Linked DNA regions of Homo sapiens: region 1 is linked to region 2. Evidence: promoter capture Hi-C in 16 types of primary human blood cells and fetal thymus (Javierre and others, 2016). All regions are on one chromosome and are shown on one strand. The core of a region is centred on a gene start or on the middle of the fragment in contact, and the rest is flanking DNA. Distances in the headings are between cores, read along the strand shown. Region 1 has its middle 41 kb from the start of MRPL19. Region 2 holds the start of HK2 (hexokinase 2).

Region 1 (3,958 bases), core at 744-3,243, 770 kb after region 2:
AGGATGTTTCTGGTCTTTTTAATTTTTGCCCAATATGTGGAATAAAGAACTAAATTTTATTTTCTCTAACTTCTCTATCCCATCTAAATCTTTATTTCCTCTTTTGTGAATTGCTTGTTCATATTTTTTCCTGTTGCTTTTGGCCATTTCATTACCAATTTTTATGAGCTTTGGGTAAGTTAAGGATCATATCCTTTCATATATGCTGCAAATGTTTGTCTGAGACTATAGCTTGTCTTTTGACTTTGCTTATAATGTTTTGTTCTTGTAATTTGAAAAAAAAGTGAGAAAATATGTCATTTGTTTTCTCCTTGTTGGATTTTGGGATTCTTGCTACCATTAAATTTATGCCCTCTATGCCAAAGTTATAGAAACTTTCCACTAGATTTTCTTCAAATCCTTTGTGTTTACTTATTTACATTTATATCTTTAACCAAAACCCATCTCACTTTTTTTCCCCAGATGAAGAGCCAATTAGGTCAGCACTATTTCTTGAATCAATCCTAACTTTCCTGCTGAATTGAAATGTTGTCTTTATCAAATACTAATTTTGCAAACATACGGTACCCATTCCTGGATTCTAGCCTGTTCCAGTGGACCACTTGTTCATGTGCCAAAACATATTATTTTGATGAAAATCACTTTATCTTAAATGTCAATATTTGGTAAGGCAAATGTACCCTATTTTCTTTTTCAGAATTATCTGCCAAAGTCTACAAGGCTATATGACAATATCCCACCACAATTATGCTTTTTAATTAAATTAATCTTGTGTTTCAAAGAGGAAGTGGCTAAGAGTCTTAGCTAACCCTGGATGGCTATGAATGAACACCCAGTCATTCATGCAAGCAGAGTCACCCCAGGTGCCCTCGCTCACAGTCTCACATTCTCATTCCTGCACACTAAACGACTCAAAAGTCCTCCGGAGCTCTGGACCTTGATAGCTATTCTCCCCTTTCTTCAAAGTCCCAGGGTCTTCTCACCCAGATCCCAGGGGCCTTTCTGCCCCCTGCCATCCTCTGACAACTCTGTCCCAGGCTAAAAATAGCTGCCCGCTTGGGGCTTTCTTCTCCTTTAGGCTCCTGCTATCTCCAAGCACAATGGGGTAGAGGACCAAATCTGTGCACCCTGATAACTGCTCTTCTACGTTTCTGCAGCTGCTTATGAGACATCCATGTGCCAGACTCCTCTCTAGCCCAAACTCTCCTTCTAGTAGTTGTTTCCCTGCTTGTAGACTACCCTTTGGTTCTCCCTAGGACACCACTCCTGATCCTCCTTGAGATGGACTCAGCCCTGACCTCCTCCTCATAGGTACTGCTGATGGCTGGAGGAGAAGGATAACGTCAGAATCATGGTGCTATGGGTTGAATTGTATACCCCTAAAATTCATACATTGAAATCTAACTCCCAGTGCTGCAGAATATGATCTTATTTGGAGATAGAGTCATTTCAGATTGAATTAGTTAAGATAAAGTCGTGGTGGGGTGTGGTTAACCAATATGACTGGTATTCTTATATAAAGGTGAAATTTGAACATGGAGACATCCACACAGGGGGAACACCATATGAAGATGCAGGCAGAGATTAGGGTGACACTTCTAAAAGCCAAAGAATGCCAAAGATTGCCAACAAACCACCAGAAGCTAAGGGAGAAGCAGGGAACAGCTTCTCTTGCATAGCGCTGAAAAGGAACCAACCCTACTGCTACCTTGATCTTGGACTTCTAGCCTCCAGAACTGTGAGAAAATAAATTTCTGTTGTTTAAGCCACACAGTCTGTAGTACTTTGTTGCAGCAGCTCTAGGGAGCCAATACACACAGCAACCCAATGCAGATGAAGGTGGGCTGCCTTCCCCCACCTGAGCCCTTCTCTCTGTTTTTTGCTGGGGTCACGTAGGGAGTCAGATCACAACAAGCTTCAAAATGTGTTTTTGGTTAATAATACTGGCCCCAGACTCTTGCCTGGTATGAAGGTTTAGCAGAGAAACTCAGGCTCCCATTGCCACCCACAGCCTGGTCCCCAGGCAGAAGCAAGCCGTGGGCTCTGCCTTGCCAGTTGGGAGCATCGTATCCAAGCTTTGGTGCTTCAGCAGTAAACAAGCAGTTAGCAACTGCTCTGCAAGCTATCCAAGCGTGACATGCTGAGGTTTCTATGACTTATCCTCTAGTGCCTCCCCCACTGTCTGTCATTCCCACCACACAGGAATCCTGACTCTTCTGACCTGTGGGCATTCATTAGGACTGTGGCCAGTTGTTCCTCCTGATGCCCTAGTGCCTAGCTCAGTGTCTGACCCACAGTAAATGCTCAATCTTTATTTACTGGATGGGTGGATAGATGGACAAAGGTACAGGAGACTCTTTGGACTAAGCTTTCTCCAGTATGTGATTCAACCTAGCAGAAGAGAGGGCGTTACCAAGAGGAGCTTCTAGGAACTGAGTCAGTCATTGAGTTGCTGCAGGCATGCATTCTTGCCATGTGGACCCTGGATTCTTTCTCATTCTTTCTGGGCTAAAGGTTGGCTTCCAAGTTCCTTTCCACTAGTGCGCCCTCCTGGCGGCTCTTTACAGCCAACTTCACACAAAGGAGGTTTAAACAGCATCTGGCAAGTCTCCCTGGAATTCACAACCAGCTTGCTCCACCCCAAAAATCTACCAAATACTTCAGACAGAACTCAGAGTGGAGGCCCTGCATTTAAAAATGGATCTCTTTTCCTGAGGCATCCACACCTCCTTCTTTTTAGAAAGCACAAGCTCATATTGAAACAGCCATCCCAGAAAAATGTGTGGAGGGGAAAAACAAAACAAAGCAGAACAAACTACAAAACAACAACCACAAAAATATTTGGAGGTCTCCCTGTCCTTGTGTTCCAGAAAGTTCGATATATGGGGATTGCAGTGGGAAGAGCAGTTGCCAGCATTGTGGAGAGACTTCTAGAGACACAGGGGACTTGAGAGTGGGAAATGGCAAGAAAAGTGCCCTGAGCCCCGGCCCAACTTGGCTCTTAAAGAGAACCCCACCATTCATTAACTGGCCCTAAAACCTGCTAAGTGAAAAAGTAAAATAAATGAGCTCATTAAATCCGGAAGGAGGGAAGACCTGGAGGCTTAACCAAGGAAATTCCCAACACCCACTTAGAAAAACAAGGGGGTTTTAGGCTCAGTTAGATTCATGGCCAGGAGTGGGGGCTGGCCCCCAAACAAGGAGGTTGAGTCATGCTGAACCACCATGCAGAGCTCGGCCATTTCCAGCTCTGCAAACAGGAGCCTGGATAGGGAGCTGCTGCTGCTTGTAGTGTGGCGGGGATGGTCAGTGTGGTTTACCAACTCAAGTGGTCCACATCCTTAGTCAAACTCATGGGGAAATCAGTTGAGAAATATAGTGGGAAGTTCCAGGAGCATGCAAAGTTCTTGAGAGAATTATGACTTCAACCCAGACTGCGGTAACTGCCTGTAACAAATACAGCCTGAGATTCGGCTTAATAAAGACTGTTCATCATGTACCATCCATTCCTCCCCGATTTATCACTCACTTCCTGAGGACCATCTATGTGCTGGCGCCATGCTAGATGCTGCCCTTTCAGGCCTAACTTGTTAGTATTGCTCCCATCGACCAGTCCAAGTTCCTATTCATGGTCCCTGCTTCACCCATGACCATAGCCCTCTTTGGTTGTGGGGTTCTGCAGATTCCCTTCAGATCTCCTTGTTCTTGAATGAGTGGAACTCTGATGATTCCTGGCATCTGCTCTCGTCTTGGGTAAAAGATTCCCCTCCAGGTGTGGCAGCCCCAGGCCTACACAAACAATGACTGTACCTAGAATAATACCTGCTGTACTGATGCATGGGCAAGAACAATGGGAATGCTGAGGAGAGAGTGCCTAACCCCATGTGTGTGTTTGCTGGGAGGCATCAGGGGAAGAAAGCCTTGTCCAGAAAAGGTGGCTTGTCAGACTTTCTGCAGG
Region 2 (4,039 bases), core at 1,136-3,635:
GCAGTATTCTGTGGGAAGATCTCAGGAGGTGTCTAAGGGCATGGAGATAAGTGGTCAGATGCACGGTCTGTTTTATAGGTGGAATTAACTGCTTGCTGATGGATTGACTGGCTGTGAGGGTGAGTGGCAAGAAGGAATCGAAGACGAGTTAGGGTGGATGGCGATGCCATTTGCTGAGACAACTGGGAAAGAAAAAGATTTGGGAAAAAAAGTTGAGTTCAGCTTTGGACATGTTAAGTGTGATATGCTAGTCACTTCAGTGGAGATGACAAATGGCAAGCTGGAGAAATAAGCCTGCAACTCCAGGAGAGGACCTCGCTGTAGATTTACTATGGTGAGTCATCAGCATGCATATGATATAACAGTCATGGGGCTAGGAAGTTAGTTTCTCCTCAGGGAGTTTGAAACTGTAACTAGTTCAGAGAAGAGGGTGGAGGGCAGCCCCGAATACCCCAGCATTTACCAATAGAGCAAACAGGGACTCAGGAGCCTGGGGAGTGAGGTTAGCCAGAAACCCTCAGAGTGGAGCACTGGTGCTCTTACTGAGAGAGGAAGGTGTGTCCAGATGGAGGATGTGATTAACTGTCCTCAACATCCCTGAGAGAAGGAGTAAGACAAGGGCAGGGAAGAGAAGAGAATGCAAGATTTGGCAACATGTAGGTCATTATGATGACTATGACAAAAGCAGTTTGAGCTCAATTCTGTGTGGAGTATAGGGAAGGAGGGTTGAGGACGTGCATTTAGAAGGGTACATAGTTCTCAAGAAGTTTTGCTGAGCACATCTGTAATCCCAGCTATTTGGGACGCTGAAGTGGGAGGACTGCTTGAGCCCAGGAGTTCAAGACCAGCCTGGGCAACATATCGAGTCCCTGCTTTAAAAAAAAAAAAAAGGAAGTTTTGCTGAGAGGCTAGATGGATTATGATTTTTGTTTATTTTTCCTGTTTATCCATATATTATTTTTCAACAATGAGTATTGATTACTTATATAATAATTTTAAGGCTGTACACATTGCAGACAGCACCCCACTGTTTGAAAAACTCCTCCTCAGTAGAACATGGCAGACCTTCATCTTCCTTCCCTGAACCTTTTCCAACCTTAGGCTTGCCATTCTCCACCAGTGCTAATGTCATGTCTCTTGAAATCTGTATTGAAGTCAGTATTTCATTCTTGCCAGTTTCCACTGTGTGTTTAAATTTGGAGTCTGGTGTCTAGCATTAGCTGGGGTTGGAGCTTCCACTCCTCTCAGCATTGGTAAGCCTCCTCACCCACCCCATCCCATGTCCAAGATCACCCAGTTACACACTTACCATCTACCCAGTTCATTCACATCATCAGTCCCAGAGCTGCAGAGATGCTCTTTTTCTACCTCCTACTTCTCTGGCTCTTAGAGAGGCAGCATGGGATAATGGGGCAAGCGAATAGGGCCTTAAAGTAGAGGGACAAGGGTTCTCTTCCCTATCTGCCACTTATTAGCTATGTGACCTCGTGTAAGTCTCTTTTCTTTTTGAGACAGGGTCTCCCTCTGTCACCTAGGCTGGAGTACAGTGGTATGATCATAGCTCACTGCAGCCTCGAACTCCTGGGCTCAAGCTATCCTTCCACCTTAGCCTTCTGAGCAGCAGGGACTACAGGCACATGCCACCATGTCCGGCTGATTTATTTATTTTTATTTGGGAAGATGGGGGTCTCACTATGTCGCCCAGGCTGGTCATGAACTCCTGGTCTCAAGCAACCCTCCAACCTTGGACTCCCAAAGTGCTGGGATTACAGGTGTGAGCCCTGGCCTTGCCTCAATTTCCTCATCTGTAAAACGGGGTTAGTGAAACTCACATCCTATCAGTGGTTTTGAGGATGGGCCGACTCTTGTATTGCCTGCTCTAGTACAATCAGCAGCTAAGGCGGCTCACTTTCCGGCCGTGCTACAATAGGTAAGAACTAGGATGCTTTAGACGTGTGACTGGGCAGTGGGAGCCCCTCACATGATCCCGAGATGCCAGACAGTGTCTCTCCGCACAGGGCGTGTGCTGGTCCAGAGGCCCGTTTTTCCAGTCGCCCCACACCCCGGGTCCGCGATCACGCTCCCCCCACCCATAGCCGAGCCTGACGCGGCGGTGGCTCATGCGCCTTTCCGTCCCAGCCTTTAGCCACGGACCACACGTCCCATCTCAGGCGCCCCGCCCCTCCCCCGCCCCCCGCCCCCGGCGCGCCTCCCCAGGCTGCCGGCTCCGGTGTCTGAGCGGCCGCGCCCGCGAGCCGTGAGCGATGATTGGCTGCGCCACGGCGGCGGGCGGTCCGTGGGCGCACACACCCTCCCCGCGCAGCCAATGGGCGTGCGCACGTCACTGATCCGGAGGCCCGCGGGCCGGCAGCCCCTCAATAAGCCACATTGTTGCATGAAACTCCGGCGCAGGAGTCCCGGGCTGCCGCTGGCAACATCGTGTCACCCAGCTAAGAAAATCCGCGGGCCCGAGCCACGCGCCTGTGAATCGGAGAGGTCCCACTGCCCGAGTGGAGCCGGGCTGAGATTCTTCTCAAGTTGAGCCTCAGTGATCCTGTGGCCGAAGTTAGCGCCTTGACGTGGGACAACCGGACACGTCGCCAGGAGAGAACTGAGGCGCCTTCTAGCAGTTGTGACGCCAAAATCACGTCTCCGGAGACCCGCGCCCTCCGCCAGCCGGGCGCACCCTCGCCGGTAGCCTTCTTTGTGCGCCGTCCGGACTCCCAGCTCCCGGCCCGGCAGCCGAGCCCCAGCACAAAGCAGTCGGACCGCGCCGCCCGCCTCCCCTCTCGCGTCTCCGCCTCGGTTTCCCAACTCTGCGCCGTCGGGCCGCGGCAGGATGATTGCCTCGCATCTGCTTGCCTACTTCTTCACGGAGCTCAACCATGACCAAGTGCAGAAGGTAAGTCAGCGCGGGCGGGGCGGCAGGCTGGGCTCTGGCAAAGTGGTCTGGCCTCCATCAGTCTCTTCCTCGACCCTGCGGGGACCCGCTTCCTCCCTACTCCGGGCCTGGGAGCGGAAAAAGTTTGGGCAGCCGGGACACTCCTGGGCGCCAGGAGCCACGTCCGCTAAGCACAGCCGGCGAGTGCGCGCGGGCGGGGAGCCGAGGTCGCGCTCCGCCGGGCGCCCTCCCTCCCTGAGCTCCGGCACGCGCTCACGCTCTCTCCCCCAGTCCCTTTTTCCCTGTTACTGGAGGGGCGGGTCACCCCGCAGGTAGTCAGGGATTGCTGCGCCCACGTGGGAGGGAGCCCCCTTCTGCAGCGCGAGTTCCGGCGAGAGCACGTGGAGAGAATCGTGGCTGCGGGAGGCTGCTCCGCTGCCGCGTGGGGCCGCCGGGGGCCGTCCGCGCTCGCGGACCGCGTGTAGGAGACGAGCGGTTCCCTTCTCCTTCCCCGCGGCCCTGCGGGGGTGGGCTCGAGGAGAAGCTGACCCGGGAAGGAGTAGGAAAGGGGCAGAGGAACTCCGCCCGCCGCGCCCCCTCCCCGGAACTGTGGCGCCCGGAACTGAGGCTCGGCGAGGGGCGTCCCCCATTAACCCCCGCCCCTCCAAATCAGCCTCGGGACCGCCCAGCCTCGTGTCCTCAGGATCTGCCTCTGAGTAAGGGGAGGACTTTGGTTGTTACTTTCTGGTTTGCCCTAAAAGTTACTCGGAGAGGCCAACGCGCCGCGTTCCTGGATTACTTGAGATTCTTGAGATTTATGTCCTTCCGAAAACGAGCTTTTTTTTCCTTAAGCCTCGACCTGTCTGTTCCCACCTGGCTCCGCAGCTCCCTATGGCTGAGCGCTCACCGCGGCCGGGTCATTTACATAAGAAAGAGCCTCAGGCCAAGCCGGGAAGCTCTCATTCCCCGCCTCGGGGTATGGGGGTGGGGATGGGGCCGGGGCCGGGGACGGGCAGGGCCAGGGGCGCGCTCAGAATTGAGTTTCTGAAATGCCCGGGATTAGGGGATTGGCTCCTGGCCCGGGCCTGGGCTACGATTTGAGGTAGGGGACAAGTTGGGAGGGGATTAGCTGGAGGGAGGTTGTTTTAAGAGCTGTGA

What was found. The method cuts DNA at HindIII sites, captures the fragments that hold promoters and counts their contacts. A CHiCAGO score of 5 or more calls a contact.
Region 1: a fragment that was not itself captured here is called in contact with the fragment with the promoter of HK2 in region 2 in 1 of 17 cell types (naive CD8 T cells); the score reaches 5.8 in naive CD8 T cells.

Annotation. Positions count from the first base shown.
Region 1 is chr2:75,603,827-75,607,784 of GRCh38, forward strand. No RefSeq gene overlaps it. Among named protein-coding and RNA genes, the nearest start is that of MRPL19, 41 kb to the right of the region's middle. The HindIII fragment of the contact is 160 bases long and covers 1,914-2,073 here.
Region 2 is chr2:74,831,742-74,835,780 of GRCh38, forward strand. HK2 (hexokinase 2) reads left to right here and starts at 2,386. Exons shown (of 18, transcript NM_000189.5): 1 at 2,386-2,902. The coding sequence starts at 2,840. It overlaps HK2-DT (HK2 divergent transcript), which reads right to left and starts at 2,246. Exons shown (of 1, transcript NR_185897.1): 1 at 914-2,246. RefSeq lists silencers at 1,878-1,947, 2,128-2,357, 3,278-3,527 and enhancers at 3,104-3,980, 3,758-3,827. The HindIII fragment of the contact is 22,379 bases long and covers 1-4,039 here.